2 separate regions of the Homo sapiens genome follow, and region 2 is linked to region 1. The links are contacts of gene promoters, found by promoter capture Hi-C in blood cells and fetal thymus (Javierre and others, 2016). All regions are on one chromosome and are shown on one strand. The core of a region is centred on a gene start or on the middle of the fragment in contact, and the rest is flanking DNA. Distances in the headings are between cores, read along the strand shown. Region 1 holds the start of ZNF772 (zinc finger protein 772). Region 2 holds the start of MZF1 (myeloid zinc finger 1).

What was found. Contacts are between HindIII fragments. The CHiCAGO score rates a contact against its expected background, and 5 or more counts as called.
Region 2: a contact is called between the fragment with the promoter of MZF1 here and the fragment with the promoter of ZNF772 in region 1, in 1 of 17 cell types (naive B cells). The highest score is 5.0, in naive B cells.

The regions. Positions count from the first base shown.
Region 1 is chr19:57,474,841-57,481,186 of GRCh38, reverse strand. ZNF772 (zinc finger protein 772) reads left to right here and starts at 3,621. Exons shown (of 4, transcript NM_001144068.2): 1 at 3,621-3,910; 2 at 4,515-4,553; 3 at 5,401-5,527. The coding sequence starts at 3,878. RefSeq lists enhancers at 3,107-4,306, 3,897-4,420. The HindIII fragment of the contact is 1,804 bases long and covers 2,163-3,966 here.
Region 2 is chr19:58,568,584-58,574,929 of GRCh38, reverse strand. It overlaps MZF1 (myeloid zinc finger 1), which reads left to right and starts at 1,595. Exons shown (of 6, transcript NM_198055.2): 1 at 1,595-1,875; 2 at 3,501-3,936; 3 at 4,403-4,586; 4 at 5,344-5,414; 5 at 5,533-5,653. The coding sequence starts at 3,541. It overlaps MZF1-AS1 (MZF1 antisense RNA 1), which reads right to left. Exons shown (of 6, transcript NR_027334.2): 2 at 5,935-6,017; 3 at 4,473-4,546; 4 at 2,975-3,072; 5 at 2,107-2,352; 6 at 133-2,013. RefSeq lists enhancers at 1,221-1,650, 1,711-1,800, 1,169-2,028, 2,029-2,890. The HindIII fragment of the contact is 12,442 bases long and covers 1-6,346 here.

The DNA of each region.
Region 1 (6,346 bases), core at 2,372-4,871:
GAAATGACTCACAAGGATGTGTGGATAGCAGTACAATTATTGTTTTTTTAAAAAGACTGTGCAATGTGCAATGGCCCATCCTTCATTGAGCCTTAGGGCTTCTGTGAAGTCCTGCTCCTTTTGTTTTTTAGCTTGGCTTCCGTCTTGGGATTGAGACAACAAGGATGTTCTAGTTTCAAAGCACAGGAAAACAAAATCATTGGCTTTAAATGGAATAGGAATTATATGAGATTTTTATTTGAGAATTCTTTTTAAAAAAATTTTGAGAATTCCTAATTGAACACCATCCATCTGCATATTGGATTAAACAGTTACTCTAAATGTACCAAGATTGCACTCTCACATAAATGGCACATGGCTATGCTCTCTCTGCTGGGAAGTGGACTCAGACCCTCACTGAGCTTTCATGTTCCATGAAGTGTGAAGGGCAGCACCAAATCGATAACATGGTTGTGAATCTCCTGTTCGCTGGCCTAGGTCTGCAAGGAAATGATTTTAGTTCTTGCTGTAAAGGAGAGAGGAGGAAGAGAATGTGGATTGAGTCAGGGGCATTACAGGAGTCCTCTGCTGAGGAAGAAATCCTAGGGGCTGGACAGTAGCAATGAGCCTGACAAAAAAGACAACATAGAAATTACTGGTGGGACCACTGAAAATGCAGGACAGGTTATAACCCTAAACCATGTTATAACACTAAAGTTTGGAGGGAAGCCCTTCCCCCTCTAGCCACCAACATGCTTCTGATTCTCCCAAATAGAACCTGATTTGTGTTGAAGTCATCTTCTGCATGATATGTGGAGAATGAACTAAAGTAGAGAAAAAACTGATGTAGGATACAAGGCAGAAGGCATTGTGTAGCTCAGGAATGTTGGCAGATTGGCCCAAGGGCATGAAATTGGAGGTGTTGAGAAGAAGATGACCTGAGACATATTAGGAGGCAGAGGTAACAGGATATGTGGGTGGTTGGGATGATACGGTGAGGCTCAGGCAATAACATTTCACCTATCAAACCCTCTGTATTTGTGGGCCAGCAGGACTTTTCCTGTTTTGATTCTTGATTGGCATCCAAGGAACCCACGTTTAGGGAATAAATGAAGCTGAAGGTTCATGTTTCTGTGGTGAAGAAAAGGCAAGACACATTCTTGTCCTCATGTCAGCTGCCTGGGACATTGAATTTTTCATAGCCTTGTTTGTCTAACATAGAAAGGGCTCTGAACCTACCCAGATAGATGACCTAGGGTAGGAGGCCATGCTGGGAAGTAGTTAGTCATGGCTCCTTGGACTCCATTGCCAACTATGCCACTTAACAGCTACAGCTGAAAATAAATTATAGACCCAAGAAACCTCAGTTTCCTCATATTAATTTAGGTGACAAATCCACTTTACAGGGCAAAAGTGCGTAGTGTTTATAAAAGGTCTGATAGAATGTCTAGGATATGGACATTATTAAATGTAAATTATTGTCATCCTTATCCCACCCCTGTATGAATAACCAGAAGATGCTGATGATATGCAGTTCCCTGATGACATCTCAGCCCAGTTGGGTGAGTCAAGGGCCTGGTAACCTTCAAGCGTAGGTCTTGGTTTCTCTAAAGCAGATTTTGGACGTTTCTAACTACAACATGATTCTTTTCTTACTGACAGAGTAGGGAGTCTGGGAATGTTAGTTGTGCTTTCAATCACAATTCAAATTCTGTGGAAATTCACTGAAGAAAAGAGAATACCTCGTGAAGCGTGTTTTGGTCCATCAAAAATTACTAACTGCTTATTTGAGTATTTATTGCATAGTCATTTAGGTTTTGCAAAAGTTGTCAAAACCAAAATGAGTAACTTGTGTAAAATAAATAAATAAGTAAATAAATAAATAAAGCCAGGAGGCTGAGAAAAGAGGGCACTCAAACACACATGCTTAAGATAAGAGCTATTACTGTCTCTGAGGGCTCTTAATGCACATATTCCCGTTAAAAGAAGTTTTGACAAGAACTTCTCAAACCGCAGCTTGCTACAGGAGTTACAAGGACAGCTCTAGATGTAGTAGAACACTTGCCTGACAGATTGTCTCCACTAATGAACTGGTGTTAACCTCTGCCATAAACATCTGTGACCAATGTTCTTTTTATCTCAAAACAAATTATATATACTTTTCCCTTTTGCCTTTGAAAGCTTCTCCTTGTTTCAAGCTCTCTGGATATGCCTATAGTCCCTATAGCCTGCATGTCCTGGATTTGCAAATCCCCTGTGCATTCCTGAATGAACTCAACATCTTTGAAGAATCTCTGTTATTTAGGTTGACAGTTTAAATATATCCTACATTGTGCTTTTCTTTGCCTCACTTCTTCCACTTATTTTACTATTATTTTACCTTTCTATTGATTATTTATTTATATTCCAAACATTTCCTCTTCTAGTTTGAAAAGTATATACGCTGACTGTATTTATTATATTTAGGCTAAAAATTACAAACGTTTAACACATTAGCGTGCCATACAGGATTGTAATACATTTGCTTTCCACTTGGAAATATAAAAAATTTAAAACTTTGAGCAACTAGCCTCCTTTCAATTTATATGTAGTTGAGGTTACGCACGGGAATTCCATCATTCTAACTCAATAAGTATATCTACTTATGTTTTACACTGTAATATGCTGTTATTTTAATCAAAAGATGCACTTCTTTTCATCTTCATTTCTTCTCTCATTGCAGACTTTTCACCTGAGATCAACTTTCTTTGGCCTTGAGTATTATTTTAAACATTATTTTTTGTGTAAATGTATTTCCATTACATTTATCATTTTTGGTTTCAAATAGTTTTATATCACACTTCCATAAAAGACATTTTGTTGTGTATAGACATCTAGTTTGGTGGTTATTTCTTCTTTACAGAAAGTGTTCATGTTGCCCTTTTCATTGCCATATGACATTTGATGAATTCTGTCTTTTCAGACACTTGTAAAACACTTAAAATATTGAATACATCTCTGTATATGGAGTATGAAATACTATCTTGAACAAGAGTATTACTTGTTGGGTTTGACACAATCACTGCTGTATAAGCAGGATAAATATTTTCTGAGGTAACAGACAGAAGGGTTATTCACTTACTTCAAGGCCACCAAACATCCCCACTCCACGTTCCACATCATGGTGTCTGGAGTCTTTTCTTTCTTGTGCCTGACAGAAAATGCTGAGGCTCGCCAAACTAACTCTGGAGCATCAGGCTACACGCATTTGAAAACAATATTTGTTAACTTCCAGCCATAGAAATCTGAGTGACGTCAGTGTATGGTGTGTCCATTTTATTTTTTGATGAGCATTCTCTGCGTAAGGAAGGCTGAAATCATGTCTCTAAACATTCCTTTGATGTCAAACACGACGTTCACCAGAAATACAGATATGGCTCCTTCAAGAGGAAGCTAAGCTCCGTCTGGGCCTTGGAGACGAGGGACACCATTTCCACGCGCCCCTGGCGGTCTTCTCTGGGCTTTTAACCTGGAGGTGAAGCGAGACGCCGCTTACTAGTGTTGGTGCCGTGGGAACTACATTACCCAGGAAACTTGGCGGCTCTGGGCCAATGAAAACCCAGGAAATAGGCGTTTCCGTTGGTCCTCACCAACGTCAGGGCGGGACTTCCTCTACCATCCTCGGGTGGACATTTTGTTTGCTTTTCCATTAATCCACTGGTTTAGTTTCCAGAACGCAATGTCAGACCTGAGGTGACAGAAAAGGGAAAACGTGAGAGAGTGTCTTCTTCCCTGAAGAGAGGTGGGCCTGAGGCTTGACAGTGGCGCTGCCTGAGTGACCTAGCCGCTGGGCTGGGCCCTGGACAGCTGATCCCAGGTTCCTGCACTTGTCGCCACCCTTCCGTAGTCCACAGGCCTGATGGCGGCGGCTGAGCCGATGGGCCCGGCACAGGTGGGTGCTGCGTCTGCGAGTCTGCGCGCTGACCCCCATCTCTGAATCCCAAAGCTTCGAATGAACGATTCCTCGGGTTACTGCAGCTCAGGCCCCTGTATCTAGAACAGTGGGGGCGCTCGTGTTTGGGACCCATTTTGACAGCACGAGTTGAAGGACGTTCCAGGCAGAGAGACCAGTGTATGCAAAGGCTCAGAGATGGTTCACAGCTGGAGCATTTGGGAAAACTGGGCCTTTAGTGTCTGAAAGGATCAGAGCGCTTTATAAGTGATTGCACCTGGAATATCATCCTGAGCAGCTGGGTCTCTATTCTGAGGGTGATGGGAGCCATGGAAGGTTCTGAACAGAGGAGAGCCAGAATCCGAGGGTTTAAAAAGTATTCCATAGACTGCTCATGGAGGGCAGACTCTTGTTGGCCATGGGGGCGGATAATGAGCACTGTTCCGAGCTAACACAGTTAAGAGGTATCCTTGAAGATGGAAGCACAGAGGGTAGACATTCAGCTCCCAGGCACATTGTAACTGGGTAGGAATATGGGATGGGGTTGAGCCTTTGGGGTTCCTTCAAGATTGCTTGACTCGCATAGTCTCCCTCTTCCCCACAGGTTCCCATGAACTCAGAAGTAATTGTGGACCCTATACAGGTGAGGGGAGAATGTCCATGCTCTCACCGATCCCACCCCCACCCAATACGCTCTCCAGCATTGTGGTGTTATATAGAACACTCTCCTGCTACTCTCCGATCTCTTGGGTCTGAGGACTCTGGAGAAGCCCCAAGCCCAGGGTCCTGACTCCGGGCCAGGGGTTTTATGGAGGGGTTTCCATTTCTGCCAACCATTGGAATAAGGTTGGAAGGTTGTTCCAGGCACAGGAACCAGCCTGTGCAAAATACTTAGAGGTGAGACTGAGAAGGGAGTTTTCAAGAAATTGCAGGTCTCTGTCATGTCTGGTGGGAACCAAGAGCAAGGGGGCGGGAATCATCCTGAAATGGCTTAAAGATGATTATGTAGATTGGGAGTTAAAAGAGAATATTCATTTCACAGTGGTAGTGCATTTAGTGAGCCAGGAAAGTGATGGTGGAGAGCCAGAGTTGTGAGATAACTGTGATCCAAAGAGTGATGTACATATGGAAAGAAGTGTAGACTGATGACGTCTGGGCTTAAAGGAGAAAGGCAAGCCCATCTTTGGTTGTCTGGTAAGCATGATGTTAGTGACCCCAGAGGAATTTGCTTACAGAAGGGTGAGGCCCTGTATGCTAAGCACAGAGCTTAGAGGGTGACAACTTCTTCACCTGCCTGTGGTTGCTATGGGTAGACACAGTGATCCATTGGGACCATGAGGCGAGAGAAGACACCAATGACATCTGGTCCTGATATTTCCTGAGTTGAGGAGTTAGGTAGGAGGGTGTACAGGAGGGAGATGTGTGGGGGCACGGATGGGGGTTCTTGGGAGAGATGCTGCTCATGGACTTGGCTCTCCTGATTGTGGCAGGGGCAGGTGAACTTTGAGGACGTGTTCGTGTACTTCTCCCAGGAGGAGTGGGTGCTCCTTGATGAGGCTCAGAGGCTCCTGTACCGTGATGTGATGCTGGAGAACTTTGCACTTATGGCCTCTCTGGGTAAGGCCGTCACATCCACCCCAGTGACTTGGACTGGGTCCTGCCCTTCCCCTTTTTTTCAGGGCATCTTTGTCCTTCCTACATCAGAGCCGTGGACACTGTCTCATTTCTTAGTGCCTGGAGTAGGTTCTGTGAGTGCTGGGCTTGGGCTGTTTGCACTCCTACTTTCTCCTTTTGAGCATTCCCAGCGCTTGCTGTCTCAGAGCCTTGCAGGCATGGATTCAGGAGTTATGCATTGTATTGTCAGCCCAGTGGGTCATATCCATCTTGTCCTTTCCCTGTCTGAATTCCTCTGTCTGTATCCATGACACCTCTGTGCCTGGGATTCTGCGCTCTTCCTTTAGCTGACATTTCCTGTGGCCTGCCTATGTCAGGAATTGTAGGGACCATTATGGTCGCTACTTGCTAGGACCACTGCACTATTCCTGCAAGACCTTACTCTGAGATTATTTTAATAATATTTAGTTTTCTATATGGGTTACCCAGACCAGTGCTGTTCTATCTTTCCCTTAGGACATACATCTTTCATGTCCCACATAGTTGCCTCACTGGTGATGGGTAGTGAGCCCTGGGTACCTGACTGGGTGGACATGACCCTAGCTGTTGCCACAGAGACTCCAGGTGGGAGTGACCCTGGTGAGTAGGAGCTGGGGAAAGGTGTGATGTCAGGGCTGGGTTCATATCATTCCATAGCCTCTTTGTGCCTACAGTTGTATTAGTGCTAAGGCCACTGGCCTTTCATACTCTGGCCTTTGGCCTCTGGATGTTCCATACCTCTGCCTTCATGTCTCACCTGTTCCTCTCCATGGCTTGTTCTAC
Region 2 (6,346 bases), core at 346-2,845, 1.1 Mb before region 1:
CTAGGATTACAGGCGTGAGCCACCGCGCCCGGCCACTATTTTCTTTTTCCCTGTTTGTCCCCTAGCCCGGAGAACAGGTTCCCTTCAGACTGCCAAATATAATTTCAAAACAGTTAAAAACATGACTCTCAGTGAGCATGTGTCAAAAGATTTATTTACCGTACTGAGGGAAGCAGCAAGATGATTCTAGGAAGACAGGAAAGGAAGAATAAACACTGGCCGGCCGCGGTGGCTCACACCTGTAATTCCAGCAATTTGGGAGGCCGAGGTGGGCGGATCACCAGAGGTCTGGAGGTCAAGACCAGTCTGGCCAACATGGTAAAACCCCATCTCTACTAAAAATACAAAAATCAGCCGGGTGTGGTGGAGCAGCCTGCAGTCCCAGCTACTCGGGAGGCTGAGGCAGGAGAATCGCTTGAACCTGGGAGACGGAGGTTGCAGTGAGCCGAGATCGTGCCACTGCACTCCAGTCTGGCAACAGCGAGACTCCGTCAAAAAAAAAAAAAAAAAAAAGAAAGAAAGAAAAAGAAAAACACTGAAATAAAAGCACAAAGTTGGATACAAAACTGCTTAGTGAGCTACAAAGCGATACACTGGACAGAAAGCATTTGCAACCTATCAACCTGTACAGGGTAGCATATAACTGGACAGCATCTGGACTCCTAAGTTTTCCTAACAGTTTTACCTCGGATTCTCCCTGTCTCTCTTCGTGCTGTCATCTTTCTCTAGGTCTTCGAAAACTGTCAATCCATCTTACTGTATCTCTAATTTCTGTCCCTTTTCTCCCTTCTTGTTTCTGTCCCTCTCCCTTCTTGTCTACCTCTTGAGTCTGGATATCTGCATTTCTTGTCTCTGTGAACCCATTCTGCGTTTCCTTCTTTGTGTCTCTTTCATCTGCATCCCTTTCTGATCTGCCTCTCTCTTGCTAACTGTTCTGACACCTGTTTGCCCGGCCCTGACCCTCTGATCCACTCAGCCCTCTTATAACTTGGACCCGTGTCTCTATGTTTGTTCACTTATTTTCACTGTCTCTCCTCGCGTCGAGTCTCCGGTCCTCCCAGTCTGTGAGTCTGTCTCTCTGTCTCTCTCTCTCTTCCTCCCGCCGGTCCTTCGTCTCTCTTTGCCCTTGAGTCTCTGGTCTCTCTCCGTCTCTCCTCGCTGTTTCTATCGATCGGCATCTCTCTGCCCCAGTACCCTTCCCCACCTCTTCATCCCACATGCCCCATTGCATTTTCAACGCCCGCCGCGTCTCCGGGTTACCCAGGCGATGTCGAGTCGTGTCCCCAGGTTACCATGGAGACGTTCAGGGCCCGCCCCTCGCCCATGATCACAGAGGAACGTCATCGCGCCGCGCGCGCACGTACACACGAAGGGCCTGCTGACTACATCTGCCGGAAAGCATCGGGCCAAGCCTTTCTCCATTTTGCGGTCTAGGAAGTAGCAGAGGCCCCTTCCTGTAGGGAGTTGCCATGGAGACGCGGTGGGGCACCGACGGAGTTCTAATGACGGCCGTGATTGGTGCAGGATCCTGCTAATCTCAGGAAGGCCCGTAGAGAAGTGAGGAAAACGTGGTGGGGGGCATGCGCGATCTGGTAGGCGGTGCTGCCGTCTGTTGTACCTGAGAGGCTTGCGCATGCCGACGCACGGATTCGAGGCGGGGAGCATGGGAAGAAGCGGCCAGGAGTATGACCTGATCATTGCGACCACCGCTAGGGGAAGGGAGGAGAGGGTGTAGAAACGGGGACGAGGGTGGGGGAAGGGCAAGGAGGCGCTCGAGCTGGTGCGCGGAGCATCCTGGGAGACGTAGTCCAGCGGGAGGGGGAAGTCGAAGACTGCGCGTGCTCAGGAGCGCGGAGCGGCCCGCTGAGCGCAGAGGTGAGGGCGGGGTCCTCTTAACCGGGAGGGCTATCGTGTGGACGGGGGCGGTGGCTGCAGACTCGGGGATTCCGGCTCCCCAGTGAGACCGGAAGCGCGGGGAACGAATCCGGGCAGTCCTTGCGGGAGCGCCCAGGGCTAGAGCGAGAGGCTTGTCAATCACTACTCGTTGCCACGACGACAGGCTTTGGGAGCCCCGCCCCCGGTTGCCTAGGCGTCGTCTGGACCTACCTTGGCACCCTGGAGCGGAAGTTGCCGCCTGGACTTCTGGGAAGTGTATTTCGGGACCCTCCGTAGGTACCTGCCATCTTGGCTATGACCCAAGTCTCTCCCAGGGTTTCAGGTTGACTTGGCACCTTGAAGAGTGGAGGCTTGGCCCCCAGGATGAGGCGGCCCTCGAAATCGATGCCACCCACGGGGGAATGATTCTGCGGTGCCATCCCCTTCATAAACGCAGATTCCTTCCTAAAGCCGCAGCTGCAGAAGGAACAGCGCGAGGAGGGAGGTCAGCCCCACTTGCAAATGGGGAAACAAGTTCTCGAAGGCACAGTGATCTGAAGATGGGCGGAATCAGAGTCTCGGGACTTCCTTGCAGGCTCCTGTTCCGGCAGTCTTGGAGCCTTTGCCGCCCCCCCACCCATTGCGAAGCTCCCCCATCCCCTTCCAACCCCAGCTAAATCAGGAAGCTGAGATGGGGCATTGCGTAGTGTGATGTTGGGCTTAGAAGATGGGGCTGAGTAGGGAGAGAGGGTGCTGCCTGGGAGCTGAGCCATACAAGTGACTGCACAGGTTGACATGGAGGATTAGGTGGAGTGAGGCTTCCAAGCAGGGAGGGGAATGATGGTGGGGCCCAAATGAGGAGCCACATCGAAGTAGATGAGAGAATAGAAGGTGAAGTAAGGGCTGGCGTTGGGTAGGGGGAGACGCCAGCAGTGATGCTGATGCCCAGGCTGTAGGTGTATAGGTGCCATCCACCTGGTAAAGAGAGAGCTGTAGCGCAGGAATGAGGTTGCACATGTAGAAGAAGGGAAGGATACAGGGGAGAGAAGTGTCTTCTAGTCCTAAAAAACAGCCTGTGGGCTGGCATGGTGGAACAAACCTGTAAGTCCCAGCACTTCGGGAGGTCAAGGTAAGAGGATCATCTGCTTGAGCCCAGGAGTTCAAGAACAGCCTAGGCAACATAGTAAGATCCCATCCCTACAGAAAAATTAAGAAATTAGCCGGATGTCGTGGCACACACCTGTTGTCTCAGCTACTTGGGAGGCCGATCTCTGGAGCCCGGGAGGTCAAGTCTGCAGTGACGCATGATCTCGCCACTGCACTTCAGCCTGGGCAACTGACTGACAGCATGTCTCAAAGAAAAGAAAAAAAAGCCTGTGTTTGGAGCAGGGAGACTGTCAGAGACTTTGCACAGGCCCAAGCGGAGAGAAGACCAGGGATACAGGTGGCTAAGGGAGGGCTTCCAGCTGCATAAGTCTGTGGGTTGTAGATGGCCTTTCTTTGCCTGTTTCCTCATCTGCCTTCCACATGGGGTAGGTCTGAGGATCAAACGGTACAGCATAGACTAGGCAGTGAAGCATTCACTGTACTCCTTTTGCAACAGCCTCATCCTATTTCTTCACCAGGGGCAGACACTGGCCTCAGATACCTGACCTGGTACCCTCTATGAGGCCTGCGGTGCTGGGCTCCCCAGACCGAGCACCCCCAGAAGATGAGGGGCCTGTCATGGTGAAGCTAGAGGACTCTGAGGAGGAGGGTGAGGCTGCCTTATGGGACCCAGGCCCTGAAGCTGCACGCCTGCGTTTCCGGTGCTTCCGCTATGAGGAGGCCACAGGGCCCCAAGAGGCCCTGGCCCAGCTCCGAGAGCTGTGTCGCCAGTGGCTGCGTCCAGAGGTACGCTCCAAGGAGCAGATGCTGGAGCTGTTGGTGCTGGAGCAGTTCCTGGGCGCACTGCCCCCTGAGATCCAGGCCCGTGTGCAGGGGCAGCGGCCAGGCAGCCCCGAGGAGGCTGCTGCCCTAGTAGATGGGCTGCGCCGGGAGCCGGGCGGACCCCGGAGATGGGTGAGTGAGTGTCCACGAGTGGGGTTCAGGACTGGAGCATCATCCAGCTCGGCCTCACCCTGGGCAGCACCACGCTTTGCCAGACACACGTTCTCCCTTGTGGTACAGAAGTGGCCACCTGCAACAGAGACCCTGTGCAAGGCTGCCCAGGGCAGAGGGATTCCAGGGCCAGACTCCCCAGCCCATTCCTGCATCACCTGCAGTCACGTGGACATAGGAGCTGCAGGCTAGGGGAATATGGGGAAGGTACTGGAAGGCCACGATGTCAGAGCAGGGGAGGGACTGCAGGTGGTCCCTTCATTCTTTGCTCAGGGCCTAGGGGAGGTAGGTCCTTGGAGGACCTAGTCAGTAGGTATTTACAAGGCAGGCCCCTGGGATCCTACAGTGGGATGGGCACCCACAAACCCCAGGTTGCGGCCAGCCTTACTCTCTGGTAGGACTTCTGATGGTGGGGGCACCTCCCCAGGTCACAGTCCAGGTGCAGGGCCAGGAGGTCCTATCAGAGAAGATGGAGCCCTCCAGTTTCCAGCCCCTACCTGAAACTGAGCCTCCAACTCCAGAGCCTGGGCCCAAGACACCTCCTAGGACTATGCAGGAATCACCACTGGGCCTGCAGGTGAAAGAGGAGTCAGAGGTTACAGAGGACTCAGGTGAGGGCATGCACGGTGGGCGCGCCTAAGGTCTGGTTGGGTGGGCCAGGGAACCTGGCCTGAGCAGTCAGTCTGAAGTCCACTGGGCCAGGTTTGTTATAAATGGAATGGTTTCCATCTGCCAGCAGCCCCCACATTCTACCCAGTCAGGTCTCCCCTCCACCGCAGCCAGTGCTGTCACTACCCCTCACACACCAAGCCTGACTGCCACAGCCCTGTACCCACGAACCCCATGGCATGGAGCAGGCTGTTGGGGTTTCCCAGTACAGATGGCATGTGGTGTTCAGTCCCCAAGGAGATGCGTTAGGCAATATGTGCTTGTCACTGGGGAACAGACAGCAGGCAGAGGTATAATTAGGAGCTGCTGAGGGAGGACCTCGTAGTGTTAGGGGTATGACCCCTTTCACCTCCCAGGCAGGGCACCTGAACTAGCTGCTCACACCCTGCCATTCCTATGTGGACCCTTGTACAATACCTCTGACCCCCGCTGACCACCTTGCCCCATGGTTCACATACGGCTACAGGGGCACAAACCTCAGCCCATCTCATCCCACTGCAGCTCAACCCCTGGCCTTCCAGGGTACTCTGCTTCACCCAGCCCCTGAGCTGGGCCCTCAGCTACCCTGCACTGCCCTCCCCAACCCAAGCCCACAACCAAGAATCCCACCTCTCTGCATCCCAGCACCTGGCACACCACTAAGAAGGGCAGTGGGGTGGAAACTCACTCAGGCTGCCTGATACCAGTTTTCCTCTCTAGATTTCCTGGAGTCTGGGCCTCTAGCTGCCACCCAGGAGTCTGTACCCACCCTCCTGCCTGAGGAGGCCCAGGTAAGTCCTGCCCAGGTCCATGTTCTCCTCCTTTCCCTGGAAGTTGCTGGGTGGGGTCAGGTAGGTCCCTCCCTGAGCCCAGCCAGGCACAGAGGAGCAGTGACCACTGTGATTTCAGAGATGTGGGACCGTGCTGGACCAGATCTTTCCCCACAGCAAGACTGGGCCTGAGGGTCCCTCATGGAGGGAGCACCCCAGGGCCCTGTGGCATGAGGAAGCTGGGGGCATCTTCTCCCCAGGTAAGTGAGATGGGGTGTGGTGGGACTAGGCCTTCCGCATGGACAGCACCATCTCTGCCGACCCCACTCCTGGCCCTACGCAGGCAGCCCTCTTACTCCAGCATCCCCAAGTTCCCCCATTCCCTAGATCATCCCCTATAAGGTTCAACCTCCTCTAGCATCTTCTGCCCTCAAAAAAAGCCACCCACCACTACCACTGATCCCACAGCCCCTCTACTTTCTAGAAACTCCCCACCCTAGTAAAACCTTTTGCAAGCAGGGCGAGTATTCCCCGTACCCACATTCTCTCCCAGTCCTGGTATCCTGGATGGCCTCCTGGGCTTGCATCCTGCTGGTCAGGCATCAGGACAGGTAGGGCTGGGACCTGACAAGGACAGCAGGTTAGTAGACAGAGCAGGTGGGCAGGAGGGACCTTGACACAGGATAGGGATCCTGCCCAATCATCGAAGCATTACGGACCAGAGGCCCCCTGCCATCTACCTCTCAGCCACCACCTTTGTCTGGCATCATCCAGGCTCCTCCTACAACCCATCTTCTGTTATGTTCCTTCCTGTTCCTGAGACCCAGGGTCTCCTCTTTCTTAGTTCACACCTTTGTTTTGGTGGAGCTTTGTGGGTGTTCTGGTGTGGAAGATAAAATTCTGACATGTCCCATATCTGAAACACATTGTCTAGCCCTCAACATTAGATTGAA